Linked DNA regions of Homo sapiens: all the other regions are linked to region 3. The links are contacts of gene promoters, found by promoter capture Hi-C in blood cells and fetal thymus (Javierre and others, 2016). All regions are on one chromosome and are shown on one strand. The core of a region is centred on a gene start or on the middle of the fragment in contact, and the rest is flanking DNA. Distances in the headings are between cores, read along the strand shown.

Evidence for each region. Contacts are between HindIII fragments. The CHiCAGO score rates a contact against its expected background, and 5 or more counts as called.
Region 1: a contact is called between a fragment that was not itself captured here and the fragment with the promoter of REEP1 in region 3, in 2 of 17 cell types (megakaryocytes and total B cells). The highest score is 5.4, in megakaryocytes.
Region 2: a contact is called between the fragment with the promoter of CHMP3 here and the fragment with the promoter of REEP1 in region 3, in 7 of 17 cell types (erythroblasts, naive CD8 T cells, non-activated CD4 T cells and 4 more). The highest score is 11.2, in erythroblasts.
Region 4: a fragment that was not itself captured here is called in contact with the fragment with the promoter of REEP1 in region 3 in 1 of 17 cell types (endothelial precursors); the score reaches 5.3 in endothelial precursors.

The regions. Positions count from the first base shown.
Region 1 is chr2:86,182,832-86,186,557 of GRCh38, forward strand. All of the region lies in intron 1 of IMMT (inner membrane mitochondrial protein), which reads right to left. Among named protein-coding and RNA genes, the nearest start is that of MIR4779, 8.4 kb to the right of the region's middle. The HindIII fragment of the contact is 1,922 bases long and covers 1,007-2,928 here.
Region 2 is chr2:86,561,413-86,565,457 of GRCh38, forward strand. CHMP3 (charged multivesicular body protein 3) reads right to left here and starts at 2,031. Exons shown (of 6, transcript NM_016079.4): 1 at 1,892-2,031. The coding sequence starts at 1,936. All of the region lies in intron 3 of RNF103-CHMP3 (RNF103-CHMP3 readthrough), which reads right to left. It overlaps CHMP3-AS1 (CHMP3 and RNF103 antisense RNA 1), which reads left to right and starts at 658. Exons shown (of 6, transcript NR_183901.1): 1 at 658-835; 2 at 1,434-1,508; 3 at 1,856-1,987; 4 at 2,276-2,370; 5 at 2,565-2,728. RefSeq lists enhancers at 1,457-1,626, 1,637-1,736, 1,894-2,188, 2,347-2,406. The HindIII fragment of the contact is 23,374 bases long and covers 1-4,045 here.
Region 3 is chr2:86,335,985-86,340,206 of GRCh38, forward strand. REEP1 (receptor accessory protein 1) reads right to left here and starts at 1,642. Exons shown (of 9, transcript NM_001371279.1): 1 at 1,495-1,642. The coding sequence starts at 1,526. The HindIII fragment of the contact is 12,312 bases long and covers 1-3,703 here.
Region 4 is chr2:86,524,097-86,528,203 of GRCh38, forward strand. The region is part of intron 5 of RNF103-CHMP3 (RNF103-CHMP3 readthrough); the gene reads right to left. All of the region lies in intron 3 of CHMP3 (charged multivesicular body protein 3), which reads right to left. Among named protein-coding and RNA genes, the nearest start is that of CHMP3-AS1, 36 kb to the right of the region's middle. The HindIII fragment of the contact is 977 bases long and covers 2,352-3,328 here.

The sequences.
Region 1 (3,726 bases), core at 718-3,217, 150 kb before region 3:
TAGAATGAGACCCTGTCTCCTCCACTCCCCTTAAAAAAAAAAACAAAAACAAAAACAAAAAATACCAAACAAACAAAAAAAACCCAGTATTTCAATTATTACCTACCCTGTAGAATTCCCAACATTTTTGAACCATTTTTAATAGAAAAGGGTGTTTTCCTTCTATTCTGTAAAGTAGTATGAAATTGTAAACAGAAATGCATCTATTTTTATATGTCAACAATTCCATTTTTGTGACTTAGGGAGAAAATATTAAGAGGCCACTGAAGTTGTATTATATTTAAGGTTGCATTTTTTATCTGTCTAGGTATAAATAGGTATTCAGGTAAAAAGTTAAGGCACTGTCAACAGTGGATAATTAGCTAACTGGAGTATCAAGCAGCAAGCACAATGGATAACTGACTCCAGGAAATCAGGGACAAATTTAATACTAGAGTTTCAGACTACCCAAAGTCACATCAGTTTTTCTTTAAATAATTTTTTTTGTTGTTTGTAGAGACCAGGTCTTGCTATGTTGACCAGGCTGGTCTCGAACTCCTGGTCTCAACCTATTCTCCTGCCACGGCCTCCCAAAGTGTTGGAATTACAGGCATGAACAACCACGCCCAGCATCAGTATTTTTAAATGTTTCTTTATCTACCTTCTATTTTCTTTTATCTTGACTCTCCATCCTCCCTTTGACAGAATGTGTTTTGACTATAAGTTAAAAGCTCCTAATACTAAATAAATTTAAAATCTGAGGTTTTAAATAATAATTTTAAAAGTTTAAATATGCATAGAGTAAAATCTTCCTCATACTTCTTTCCCCAGCCACCCCATGCTTGCCATAGGCAACTGACACTGTCAGTTTCTTATTTATCCAGAGACATTTTATGTATATTTATTCAAATGTGCATATTCTCCTGACTTTCCCCACCTTTACACAAATGATACCATAATATACACGCAATTCTCTATTAAAGTTCAAGGATATATATTTTAAATCACTGTATATCAGTACGTGAAAAGCTTCCCAAGGGATTTCATGATTTGGTATTCCATTGTTACTTAATGTTTAATTGTTAACCAGCCCCTATTGAGGGACACTGAGGTTTTTTCTAAATTTTTGTTAAAATAAATAATGCTACCTGAGTAACACTGTATACACAATTTTGGGTCTATTCTTAAAAGTAAAATTTGCCACGTTGATTAATACTGCCAAATTAGCCAAACTGCCCTCTAGTAATATGAAAGTATGTTTTCCCACATTTTCTCCAACACACTGTATTGTATCATTTTTTTTTCATCATTGACAATCTGAGGGGTGAAAATACAGAAATAGAGTGTTTCAAGCATATAAATAATTTTTTTTTTAAGAGACTGAGTCTTGCTCTGTTGCCAAGGTTGTGGAATGCAGTGGTATGATCATAGCTCACTGTAACCTCTAACTCCTGGGCTCAAGTGATCCTCCAGCCTCAGCCCCCTGAGTAGCTGGGACTACAGGCACATGCCCACCATACCCAGCTAATATTTTTGTTCTTGTTTTTTATAGAGCCAGGTCTGCTATGTTACCCAAGCTAGTTTTGAACTCATGGCCTCAAGCAATCCTCCTACCTTGGCCTCTCAAAGCACTGAGTAATTTTTATTTACATAATTTATATATTAATACGTTTGTTATTGTTAATATAATAATTATAATTACACTGCTATTTAATACCACTAAGTTTAGGGTGGTCTGTTACACAGCTACAGATAACCAAACATATGTTTATACCTAGAAGAGGGGTGCTACTGCAACAAAACATAAACACGAGGTCATGACTTTGGGACTGGTGTTGGGGGCGGCAGAAGCTGAAGAACCTTGAAGAGACTGTGAGCAGAAGCCTAATGGCCTTCCAGAGCCTGTTGGTGAGGGCTTAAAGAAAAGCAAAAAAAAAAAAAAATTTTGGAACCTGGAGGAAAAGATATTCTTGTTATGTAGTGACAGAAGTTTATCAAAACTGTCATCTGTAATGACAGACATGGAAAATAGAAAATTAAGTATAGCTGTAGCTACACCTAATGAACTGACGTACTTGGCTAAAGAGTTCCAAGTAGGCCAGGCGCGATGGCTTACGCCTGTAATCCCAGCACTTTGGGAGGCCGAAGCGGGCGGATCACAAGGTCAGGAGATTGAGACCATCCTGCTGAACATGGTGAAACCCCGTCTCTACTAAAAATACAGAAAATTAGCCGGGCGTGGCAGTGTGCGCCTGTAGTCCCAGCTACTCGGGAGGCTGAGGCAGCATGAACCCGGGAGGCAGAGCTTGCAGTGAGCCGAGATTGCGCCAGCCTGGGTGACAGAGCCAGACTCTGTCTTAAAAAAAAAAAAACAAAAGAGTTCCAAGTATAGTGTTCATCACAAGCGCTAACTGGTTTCTTTTAGCTGAGTATGATAAGGACAGAGATAAGCATTAAAAAACAAAACAAAAACCTGTTTTGCTTTCAAGCAAAATTTAAAGGAAATATAAAAGAGTCAGGATTTGGTGGGTTCAAAAATAAAACTGCTTATTGTTTTCAAATAGATTCTCAAATAGAGAAGGGCTTCAAGCCAAAGATCAAATCTAGTGTGTGACCAAAAGATACTTTGAGATCTCAAAAAGATCTAAGGAGGTGCCCCTCAGAGAGTCTTTTTACCTTGAGGAAAAGGCCCTCTAAGAATCATAAGGATGTGTTTCCCAGATTCTATTGAATCAATAAGGTTACTCAGAACATTAAAGGTGTTACCTACAGCAGCCTCACAGGAAGCCCAAAATGGAGAAGGGCTTATCTTGATAAGATGTGTATCATGCATCTAATGAAGAAAATCCCATTAAGATTCACAGGAAACCCACAAACTTGTTGAGAATTGTGTCAATAAAAAACATGCTGGCTTATATTTAAAGTGAAAAAGAGGACAAAATGAAAAGAAGCTTCTAGACAAACTTCTACAGACAGGAAGTAGGCTGTGAAACAATTCAGCTGTAACAGACAACATATTCTGGAAACGGAAGAATAATTCAAGTGTAAAACCAGGAGCCCAAAGGGTAGAACCAAGAGCTGAGGAGAATCATTCCCAAGCAGTAGGACTGAGCTCTCATCAAGGAATTAGAAACATAGGGCCAGCTGAATTTTACACTTGTTATGGAATGGTGACTGCTGTGTGCCTCTTAGTTTCTGCCTTTTTGAATAGGAGTGTCTAGAGTGATTATCCTGTGTCTGTCATACCACCATATGCTGAATGTATGGGGAGCAGATAATTTGTCTCTTTAGTTTACAGGGCTTTAGATCACCAAAAAAAGTGTTTAAGAAGCTATACCCTAGGGACCACATTCAAGATGTCTTATCCATAGTAGGATCTGATTCAGATGACAAGATCTTGTTCCTAATGCTGATGCTTTGATGGCATTAGACTCTGGAGAGTCTTGGAGAAGGTTGTGAGTGGGAGGGATGTGCATGTGGGAGGGATGTCAGTTGGGTCCAGAAGGCTGAGGATAATATCCAAAATTGACTGCAACAATACTTCCTATACCACATGCTGTTCCAGAAACGTGCCCCTCTCCCAACAATAATAAGTTTTATGTACACTTCCCTTAAACAAGGGCAGGCCTTTGTTACTAATTCACTAATAGAAGGCAGTGAAAGTGATGCTCTGTAACTCCTGAGACTAAGACATAAAAAGGATACAGCTTCTACCTAGCTCTGCCTCTTGTCACACTTGCCCTTGGA
Region 2 (4,045 bases), core at 781-3,280, 230 kb after region 3:
CTTGCTACTCAAGTGTAGACCAGCAGCATCAACATCACCTGGGAGCTTATTAGAAATCTCAGACCCTATCCAAGACCTACTGAATCAGATTTTGAATTCTGACAAGATCCCTAATGATTAGTGTGCACACTAATGCTTGAGAAGCACTGCTCTACAATACCCAGACTTGTCCATAATGGGGGGAAAAACAACTAAAATTTTTTATTCAATAAATGATCTTACCTGTTCGGCTCTGGCAAGCATAGTTTTAAAAACCAATCTCATGCATCAACCCTGCCATTTTCCAGTGTCAATCAGCTTTCTCAGGTAGATTACCCTACTGAAGAGTGTACCAATATCGTGTTCTTAGCAATTTATCATTTAAAAACAATCTAAGTGTACAATATACTAGAGTAGTATAGTAGTACATATACTAGAGACTAGTTTAAACAATAAAGCAACCATTTCCCCAGCATCTTTTTTGCTTCTCCATAATCTTATCTCAATTTACGAATGGCAATGCCAAGGCCAAACACTGAAGACAACAAATAATCTCTCCCTACCACACTTCTACAATAACAAGAATCTTAGAATATACAGATGTCACAAAATGTGCATCTATATAATGTTCTATAGTTTCCAAAGTGATGTTATACCGTTATTTCATTTAAGCGCCACAATTTTTATTTTACCAAGGAGCAAAACTGAGTAAGTTTCCTGACGAAAATAATGAGTGTCTACTGTTCTAGGGCCTTTAACAACAACAACAACAAATTTACATTAACGCACATTATGTGCCAGGAATTGCAAGATGCATAAGATTAGTTTTTAAAATGTGCCTGCTAGAGCTGAACAGGTAAGATCATTTATTAAAGGATTTCAGGATTTTTTTTTTCCATTATGGACAAGCCTAGGTGTTGCAGAGCAGTGCTTCTCAAAGCACTGATGTGCACACTAATCATTAGGGAGCTTGTCAGAATTCAAAATCTGACTCAGTGGGTCTGGAGTGGTGTCCGAGATTTAACAAGCTCCCAGGTGATGTTGATGCTGCTGGTTGGCATTTGAGTAGCAAAGCTGTGCCGTATTTAAAGAATTAGCCCTAACTACCAATATGAAAACTTTACATCCCTGAATCTTCAATTACTCTGAGGTGACACTACTATTATTCTGGCTTCACAGTCGAGAAGGCACTGAGAAGTGAACTTTCCAGAGATCACAGAGCTGAGATGTGGGAAGGCAGGATTCAAACTTAGGTTGACTGACTGCAGGGCATTTTCAACTGTTTGCCTCCCAATATTATCTCAATTAATAGGTAACGAGAGTTCGAAGCCGGGTCCAGAGCTATCTTCTGTAACATTCTTCTGGGTCGAGTCCCTGCCCCGCTACGGTATGTGCCTAGGGTCAACACAAGGGCTGGGGAAAGAGGAAACTGAGCCTCTTTTTCAACACAACAGGGAGGACGGAGAACAGACGGCTCCTCCGGCAGACGCGACCCGGCCCGCTCCAAACAACGCTTCGGGCAGGAGAAGGTTCTCCGGGTGGTCCGCAGCCGGGCTGGAGGGGTGGGGCCTACGCTGGGAAAAGGTTCCGGGCGGGTCGTACCAACGCGCGCAGGGGGAAGAGGTTTCCGAGGCCAGGACGGTGTCGCTGCCTACGCGCTCAGTGGCGAGGTGGAGAAACTCTTCATCCACCCTCGGCTACCTGTTCGAGAGCCATGGCACCAGGAGCTCTCGCGTCCCACAGCCGACTCCTAAAGACTCTTCCTCCGGCCCCCCTGTCGAGTGGGAGTCCCCGGAAATGGGGGCCGGGCGGTATCGGGCAGGCGGTGGGGAGAAGAGTGTCCTGTCATTTACCAACTTCACTACGCCCCACACAGATCCACCCGCTTATCTGCCGCCGCCGTAGCCCTTACCAGTTCTTTGGGCGGCTTCTCCTGGGTCTTTCCAAACAGCCCCATGACGAACTGAACCCGTCTTGCCCCTTCCGGCTTTCAGTTCCCCGCGCCCAGGCAGGTCACGGGCAGCCGCCTGGGCGGGGCCCGCGGAAAAGGAGGTAGTCCCAACCCCCAGAGTAGGGAGCGGCGGCACTAGGGGATGTTGCGCATGCGCCATACGCCTGCGCAGAATCGAGTGAGTGGGAGACTAGTCAAAAAGGCTGACGTCATCGCACATGTTCTGGTCATGTCTGTGTGGGGGAGACCACGGATTCGGTGCTTTTCGTAAGGTGTAGAAATGATTGCTCTGAAAGATACGAATTTGTTGGCTACAACTGCTTCTAATACTTCACCTAAACCTAGATGTTGCACCAGAAGTCTGGATCTCCACGCAGACGTGTACACTTAGCATCACTTTCCCGACAGCTTCATCTTTGTGTCCAGTAGGCAACTCACAGGTGACAAACCAAAAATAACCTCTTTTTCCTCCCGCCAACCCACTCCTCCCCTCTGCTTGCACCACCATCACCTGGTCACTAAACCCTAGGCATCGTCCTCTCTCCCCTCTTACCAAGTCCCAACCATTCTAACTTCAATATGTCTGAACTTCAACCCTCCCCTTTCCATCCCAACTGCGGTCGTTTTTTTTCAGGCCATCGCCCTTTCCAGCGTGGGCGATTCCTGCCTAGCATTTGTCCATGTGTGTCCCGTCCTACACGCCACACTGACCGTGAGCTTAATCACACTCTCAAAGGAATCTGACTAAAGAGAACTAGACACATTTTAGCACGGACAGTTCCTGATTAGGCCTATACGGTGAGCTGATGGTTACTGTCATTAACTCATCCGAGGATGGTGAAGGGGACCATTTGTTACCTCAGCCCCATACTCCTGTCTCTGGTGGAATCATAAAATGGTTCGGCAGCTTTGAAAACATTTTGACAATTTCTTAAAATGCTAAACAAAGCCAGCCTTCCATTCCTAGCTATTTACCCAAGAGGGAAAAAAGCATATGTTCTTACAAAGACTTGTACACAAATGTTCATAGCAGCTCTATTTGTAATAGCCATAAACTGGAAACAATCCAAATGTCTATCAACAAGTGAATGGATAAACCAGTCGTGATTGATCCATACGAAGGAATAGTACTGAGCAATAAAAAAGTAAACTATTGATAAATGCAACAGCATGGATGAATCTCAAAATAATTCTGCCAAGTGAAAGAAGCCAGAACCGTATGATTCCATTTACATAACATTCTGGAAAATGCAAACTAATACATAGTGACAGAGAGTACATGGGCGGTTGCTAGCGGATAGGAGTGGGGTCAGAAAGAGGCAGAAAAGAGGGATTACAAAGAGACACGAAGTTTAGGGGGATGATGGATAATATCTTGATTGTGATGATGGTTTCACAGATGTATACAATATCAAAACTTACCAGGTTGGACACTAAGTATGTGCGATTTATTTTATGTCCAATCATACTTCAATAAAGTTGTTTTTAAAAAAGCACTGCCTGTTCATTGTGAAAAGTTAAACCCTCATTCTCACTTCCTCAGGGGAAAAGGTCTCAAAGGATTCACACCAACTATTAAATATAGTGTGAATCTTCTGAAACCTTTTCCTTTGGAAAATATACTTTTATTTTTATTTATGTATTTGTTTTTGAGACCGGGTATCACTTTGTCACCCAGGCTGGAGTGCAGTGGCAGGATCTTGCCTCACTGCAGCCTCTACCTCCCAGATTCAAGTGATCCTCCCACCTTAGCCTCCTGAGTAGCTGGGTGTCAGCCACCACGCCCACTGTGTTTTTAATTTTTCTGTAGAGACAAGGGTTAGCCATGTTGCCCAGGCGGGTCTCAAACTCCTGGGCTCAAGCGATCCTCCCACCTCAGCCTCTCAAAGTGTTGGGATTACAGGTGTTAGCCACCTTGCCCGGGCCTATTTTTACTTAGTTGAGATTATATTATATACATTGAGCCACCTCTCCCAGCCCTATTTTTATTTAATTGATATTATGTTATATACGTTGTCCTACAATTTCCTTTTAAACACATTTTATGTAGACTTTCATCAGTGTCAATACCTATGGCAGTCCATAGCAAGAATGTACCATAATTTATTTAACCAT
Region 3 (4,222 bases), core at 392-2,891:
GGACCTACAGAGAGCCCACCAGCCAGGCCAGCTCAACTCTCCAGCCCCACCCTGAGGGCTTCCCAGAAGCCACTGGCAATATCGATCCCAGAGAGGAAACACCACCCTGAAGGCAAGACAGTGTTGGTCAGGCATGAGGCTGGGCAAGGCGTGTCAGCCACTTTCCTGTATTATTCATGTCGGCTCTGCCAGCAGAAATCTTCTAAATATTTAACATGCCACCTCAAGGTGCAGCGCAAACACCCCGCAGTCAGGAACAGCTGTGGAGAGGCCTTCACGGAATGACTTGGGGGCTGAGAGGCACAGACACTGGCTTTGGGAGGAAAGCCCTGAATGGTGGCGGGAGACAATGCTGAGATCCACTTCGGAAGGGAAAATCAGTAAAGAAGGGAAGGGAGATGGGTGGTGTTTCAAAACGTGGGGAGTGATGGTGCACAATCACTGGGGTCCAGAGCCCCGTGTTCTCAGACAAAGAAAAAGCCCGAGGTGCCTGCCACCCTCCTCCCCGCCTTAGACTCCCCACACCCATTTCAGCCCCTGCTAGCTACAGCAGGTGGCAAATCTGTTCTGACTCAGGCCAGGATGGTTAGGGAAGAACAGGGACTTGGAACAGCCACGTCTATCTCCAAAGGAGAATAAATCCACCGGGGAAGCTCTTCAAACGCCTACAGGTCCTGGGGCTTGAAGGAGAAAATCGGCCCCCACGCCCACCCCCAATGACTTCACACAGACCTCACCCTAGATGACTCTGCGCTCTCCTGCAAGGCCTGGGAGGTGTCATCGCCACCATGCGGGTGGCTGTCACTTGAAAATTTCCCGTGCATTCCTGGAGGTACCTGCCCCTGTCTCTCAATCCCCTGCAAAAGGAGTCGGAGCCGGGGGCTCCAGGCGTTTACTCCAAGATTCACATGCGTCTTCCCATGTCCCAGCTGCCTTTGCCGCTGTCGATGCAGACACCTAAAAAGGAGGATTTTTCCAACCCCACTGGGAGCCCCGCCTCTGCCTCTCCACCCGTTCCGCGCTGACCCTCCAGGCAGCGCCCCTGGTTCGTCTGCGCTGTCCTTTCCACCTGACAAAAGCTGGGGCGGCGGGGCGCGGCGCCGGGCGACCTCACATTTCTGCCAAAGGAGAGAGACGCGTGTCCGCGGTGCGCCCATTCGGGGCCTCTGCAAATCGACCGAGCTGAGGAACAAAGCGGCCAGCGCGCGGCGAGACGCAGCCCCCACGGAACCCCCGAGCGCCCCAGCCCTCGCCGTCCCGGCCCAGCCCCCCGCAAGCGGCCGCCGGCGCCGGCTGCCTCCTGGGCAGCAGCCGCGTCCTGCGCCGCCCGTCCGCCCGCAGGCGTCCTCGGCGGCTACTGTACCTGCTAAATTTAGCTGCGCCGGGTATTAATAGCCCGAGCCACTGGGACCGGGCGCTGTAGGGGCGCGCGCAGCCCGGGGCCGGGGGCGGGGAGGGAGGGGACGGAGGGGCGCGGGGGAGAAGGCCACTTACACCACCAGCCTGGAGATGATCCATGACACCATGGCGGGCAGGCGGGCGGGCGAGGCCCGGGCGGCGCGGCTCGGCTAGGCTGCGGGCGGCGCGGGCTGCTGCGGCGTTCCCGGAACGTCAGTCAGCTCACGGCAGCCGCCGCCAGACTGAGCGCGCCCGCCGCCCTGCCCGGCGTTCGCGCGTTGGCGCAGCCGCGGCACGTTCTGGCGGCGGCGGCGGCGGCCCCAGCCCCCCGGGGCTCGGCGGGCCCGCAGCGATTGGGCGGTGAGCTGGTCAGGGCACCCGCGGGCCCGCCCCGTCCCGCTCGCCCTGGCCCCCGGCTGAAGGCGGGCGCGTCCTGCGCGCTCCCCGGGGCACCGGCCCCGCCAAAGGAACCCTGCAGCGGCCCCGTTTGCAGGGCAGGGACCCGGGTGCTGCCCCACCCTCAGCGTTCCAGCGGAGAAACTGAAGTCCGAACCTGAACCTCGGGAATCTGTCTGCACCTGTCTAGGTGGGATGCTGTCATCCCTCATTCAGCTAGTGCGTTAGCCTCATAAAGGGTTTACCTGGATCCAGACCTAACCTCTTCAGTCTGTCCGTTGCTCAGCACTTTCTGCATAAGAAACAAACCTGGGCGCTTGCCTCCCTACTTAAAATTCTACAGAGTCCCTATATGATCGTGGTACCTGCCTAGAACCGTGTTGCCAAGACCATTCCCCCAAATAGTCCTCTAGCTCTTTTCCCTCCAGGCATCTTGGACTCAAATATTTGCTGTTTCTTCTTCCCTGTCAGTACACGCCACGCCTCATCGTCCTGCCTTGGTTTGATTCAGCTCCTTCTTCTAGGCTGGGCTGAAGGGCTACTTCTTCCTAGGGAAGGCCTTTCCTTGGGGGCTGCTCCGGGCCCTAGGAGGAGACTAGAAGCTGCGACTGCTTAGCACCAGTGCCCCGCTGAGCCACGTTGAACTCTTAGGCAAAAGGGAACTTGTGCACCCTATATAAACGTTTTTATGTATTTTTTAAAATACCGTATTAAATATTATGGTGGTTTTTTTTGTTGTTGTTGTTTTTTTATGAGACAGAGTCTCGCTCTGGGGTGCAGTGGCGCGATCTCGGCTCACTGCAAGCTCCGCCTCCCGGGTTCAAGCGATTCTTCTGCCTCAGCCTCATGAGTAGCTGAGATTACAGGAGTGCGCCACCACGCCCAGCTAATTTTTGTATTTTTAGTAGAGACGGGGTTTCACCATGTTGTCCAGGCTGGTCTCAAACTCCTGACCTCGTGATCCGCCCGCCTTGGCCTCCCAAAGTGCTGGGATTACAGGAGTGAGCCACCTATTATGTATTTTAGTTGCTGAATTTTATGGCACCTCTTAAATGTTGCACCCTCACTGAGCGCCTCACTCTGCTCACCCTAGTCCCGGCCGCAGATAGTACATTATTCTGTTACACTGGAAACGCTTTGTCCTCTACTCCTAGGCTCTGCTGCTGCTTTTCCCACCCTCCAATAGCTTAGGTTCTGCGTGGTGCTCCCAGCGCCCTGTCCTTTGCTGATGATGGTGTCATGTATAATTCAGTGTCAGATGTGAGAAGCGCAGGAGACAGCTTAGTACTCTCAGATGTAGCAGAATCTGTGCGTGCGTGTGCCTGATATAGTCAGAAGAAAGACTTCACGGACAACAAAGGGACTGCAGATGAGACATGCTCTCATATCTCAGGTCTCCAAAGAACCCATAAAATAGCTGTAATGTAGCAGTTTTTTCATGCTGCCTTGACCCAGTTTTGAGGCTCAGGCTGGAGGCTGGTCAGTTCCCCTTCTCCAGCAGTCTATTAACTGCATACCCCCAACCACTTCCGTTAGCAGGCTCTCACACGCGGGACACTATACACCTGTCCAGGGCTAGGCACCAAACAACTAGTTACAGCCCCTGTACTTCAGAACCCGCTGAAATTATCCAAATTAGCCTATCCTATATCTGCTTGCCTTATTTCACTCTTTCCTTCCCTCAGAAACCATGATAAAGATGTTTGTCCACAATTCCCCTCTCTCCCTCTCTCTGTGACAGACCCTGGCCCTGAGTGGACCTGCATGGTGTGCTGTGATCTCTCCAGGAAACTGTGGATATAAAAAGCTCTAAAACTCTTTCTAGCTTCTCTCTCTTGATCTGTGTCTGGCCCCACCATATCTCACTCAAGGTAAGGTTATACGGGTAAAACAATGCTCCACGGGGAAAAGCTTTCCATACTTACTAGGCAAAGAGAACACCAAAGCTAGATCAGGACAGCACCCAGCACAGAGGACCTTCCTGAGACCTCCCTTCCCCTCCATCCATACCCCTCACCTATGCTCCCTGCGTCAGAAAGGCTGTTACCCATCTTGCAGGGGGAGCAGCGGAGGGATGGACTACTGTGGTTCAAAGAGACCCTGTTGGTGGGAAAATAAAGAAGAGGTGACCACATGCTTGTTCCCTACTCCCTATAAGTGGAATTCTCAGATTTGACTATTGCACAGGACTGAGCATTTTAATTACCAAAATGAAACTATTCATGGGGTTAAAATATCTTGAGGTCTTTTCATTAGCTGAAGAGGACCAGAAAACTAGTGAGACCAACACATATTTCTCACAAGGGATGAGAAAGAACTTGTCCATAGAGCGGACTTGGATGGGTAGAGGAGGGAAAAGAAGAAAGAAAGAAAGAAAGTTGCTTTTGTACTGCATTCTGTCTCTTTCAGTGTAACTGTTACACTTATT
Region 4 (4,107 bases), core at 1,590-4,089, 190 kb after region 3:
TATTATTATCCTCAAAATGGAACATGGGAAAGGTAAGAAAATTAAAGGAACAGTCTGAGAAATCCAATAACTAAGACTGTTTGCTTTCAGAAAGAAACAGAAAATACAGTGCAAAGGCAATGTACATGCACACATCCAAGCACTGTAGGATACAAGTCCCCAGGACTGAAAGGATGCACCAAGGAATAGAAGGATACAACACTTTTCTTTTAGAAATCCATATGTAAATACTTATAGATGAAATTACAGTTGGTCCTCCATATCTGTGGGTTCAGTGTTTGTAAATTCAACCAACCAAAGACAACAAAATATTCAATATCAAAAATATTCAACAACAACGAAAATGAAAGGCTGTGTCTGTACCAAACACGTATAAGCTTTTTGTCATTATTCCCTAAACAATATAGTATAACTATTATTTACATAGCATTTGCATTGTATTAGGTATTATATAATTAATCTAGAGGTTAAAGTATACAGGAAGATATGTGTAGGTTATATGCAAATACTACCTCATTTTATATAAGGGACTTGAACATCCACAAATTTTGGTATCTGTGGGGATCCTGGAACCAATCCCCTGTGGACACCGAGGGATAAATGTATATGGATTCCCAGAGGAAAATATAGGGACTAGGTGGGATGAATATAAATTCAGTAAAATCAGCCAAGAGTTGACAATTGTTTAAGCTGGGTGATAGGTACATAGAGATTCATTTGGGTATTCACTCTGCTTTTGTATATGCTTAATATTTCCATAATAAGAAGTTAAAGAGAAAACAATACAGGATGATTCAAACAATCCAACTTCTCTCCTCAGAAGTGAACCTTTTTCAGACCTCTGTTTATCCATTTATCATTTATTTACACAACTACACAAACACATCCTCTACTTATTTACAGAGTGCTATCATGCTATATATACTGTTCTGCAACTTGCTTTCTTATTAAATGATGCATCATTAACATCTTTCTGTAGCTGAATACTATGCTGAAACCTAAATAAATCATAATTTACTGATTCAGTCCTCCACTGAAGAAAAATAAAATGTTAGCAGTTCCCCTGTTACCAATAACTTTCTGTTGTTGGCTTTAATTATGTGTATTTTACTAATTGGGTAAAAATTCCCAATGCCTATAATTGTACAATTATAAAACTATTTCAAAAACAAAATTAAATACAAAAAACTTCAAAATCAATAAAATTCACATTAACAACGTAAATTTCATGTGATACTTTGCTGAACTAAAACACCACTTATAATGTGGGTTACGCTACAGGTAAAATACTTGATAACTATGCATATATATACTGTTCTCATCTATCTGTCTGGTGACTCCTTTCCCGCTTTTCTCCATTAAGACTACTGAGGTTGCAGTGAGCCGAGATGGCACCACTGCACTCCAGCCTGGGCGACAGTGCGAGATCTTGTCTCAAAAAAAAAAAAAAAAACTACTTAAAATCCTTGCATCAGATGGGATTCCCTCGGCAAGGACATTTACACAGTAAGTTGGGTTTTGCTCTTTTCACACTGGATTGCCACAGTGAAATTTGACACCAAACCTCATAAACAAAAATGCAAATGGGGGATTCAAGTCTCATGAAACTCATCAATTATAAGGTAACCCAGAGTATACATATGTTTAATTTTTTAATGATGCCAAAAATTAAAATAAAAAAAAATTCTCATAGTAGAAAGACTGGAAGAAGACAAAGTGGTGGGAGAAGGAAAATCAAGATTTTTTTATATCAATTTTGAGATACCCCTTGAGACATCTGAGTGGAGATGCCAATTACGCACTTAGAGATAAAGTCAGCCCTGAAGATAAAACTCAATGGCATTTAAAGGCATGGGGTTAGATAAGATCGACTACTGGGAGTAAAGATGGAAAGGAGCAGAGGATCTAGAATAGAGCCCTCGAGCACCTTAACATTCAGAGGCCAAAGAGCAAATACTTTACTTTTCAATTCTGGTAAAGCTACAGTATATATGAAATGAACAACTTAACATATTGTTATGGGTGTACATTTAAACGATAGGCTCTTATGTGCAGTGCACAGGGAAGCTTTTGTTATGTATACTGCTGAAAGTGTATGATAAAAGAGTTTTTGCATGCAGACTAATGATTACTTACTATGACGATAACTGGCTGAAAAGGTATTTTGGAATCAGGACACAGGAAGAAAGGGCAAAGAAAAGAGAATGCTCGAGTTTAGTAGCTCTGAGAGAACTATTAACACAAGATAACATTTCTCAAAAATAAAAAAGTCTGACAATACCAAGTCAAAAAGGTGAAAAGGTATGGAAAAAAAGAACTCATGAACTGCTGCTGGAAATATAAATTAGTAAAGCTTCTTTGGAGAGCAATTTTGTAATTCTAGCAAAATTTAAACCCAGCTACTTACTTAGCAATTCTACTTCTGAGTATACAACTGTCCTAAACCTTTACACACAGCAAAAACTGAAAATAACCTTAATATCCATCAAAAGGGGAACAGAAAAATAAAATGTGATACATCAATGTAATTTCATCTAGTAGTTCAAATCAATGGACTAGAGCATGCTCTCTCTCTCTCTCTCTCTCTATATATATATACACATACACATAGATAATTTTATTGTGGTTGCTGTTGTTTTGTTTTGTCTTGTTTTATAGAGACAGGGTTTCATTATGTTTCCCAGGCTGGTTTTGAACTCCTGGCTCAAGTGATCCTCCTGCCACAGCCTCCCAAAGGGCTGGCATTACAGGTATGAGCCACTGCACCCTGCCTACATTTATCCACATGAACATATTTCAAAAACGATGATAAATGGAGCAAAAAGACGCAGAATGGTATCTATAGTATGATACCATTCATAAAAATTTTAAGATTCATGATAGTGGCTTTCTCTGGAGAGGTTGGGAGAGAAGAGAATGAAACTGGGAAGGTGTATTAAAGGAGCTTCAACTTTTGTAATAATGCTTTTTTTATATATATATAATATAGAAGCAGGCAAATACAACAAAACGTTAAATTGTATTAGTTCTGGGCCAGGTGCAGCGGCTCACAACTATAATCCCAGCACTTTGGAAGACTGAGGCAGTGGATCACTTGAGCTCAGCAGTTCAAGACCATCCTGGGCAACATGGTAAAACCCCGTCTCTACCAAAAAAAAAAAAGATAAATTTTATTAGTTCTGTATAATAGGTACATAAAGACTTATTACATTATCCTCTGCTTTCATCTCTACAATTGGAAAAAAAAGAGGCTGTGCATACACTGCTTTATTCATAGAGGGAAAAAGGCAAAATAAGCAATAAGGAAAGAGTGAAAAATGTTTAAACAAGCTTATCATGGTCAACTGAACATGTGTCTTTTGAGCATGTTGCAGGAAAAATTGAGAATCAATCTGAATTTTTCAAGCTGGCTATAAAAGACAATAATACTTGAGCTTTCAACATGACAGGATTAAACTATTTCTTTATGGCACTGATACTCAGTTTGATCAAAAGGCATATCTAGGTGATATATCCAGTATTTCAAGAGCCTAAAATCATCATTTTAGGGCTGTAATAACATGGCATTTAAAAGTGAAGATAGGCCGGAAGTGGTGGCTCATGCCTGTAATCCCAGCACTTTGCAGAGCCGAGGAAGGTAGATCACCTGAGGTCAGGAGTTTGAGACCAGCCTGGGTAACATGGCGAAACCCCGTCTCTACTAAAAATACAAAAATTAGCTGGGAGTAGTGGTGGGCACCTGTAATCCCAGCTACTTGGGAGGGTGAGGCGGGCGAATCGCTTGAGCCTGGGAGGCGCAGATTGCATTTAGCCGAGATCACACCACTGCACTCCAGCCTGGGTGACAGAGAAAGACTCTATCTCAAAAAAACAAAAATAAATAAATAAAAGATAATCTTGATAGATTTTTTAAAGGATGATGTGGTACAAACATTTTGTCATTTTTTTTTTACTCTTTCCCAGCCCATGATTATTCTCTTCAGTATCTCGAGAAAGAAACTAATGATACATTCATGGTTAGGCATATTTTAAAACCACATTCGAATGTTAAAATTGAATGTGAAGAAAATACCTTCAGAACGAAATACAACCAAATAATGCATTAGA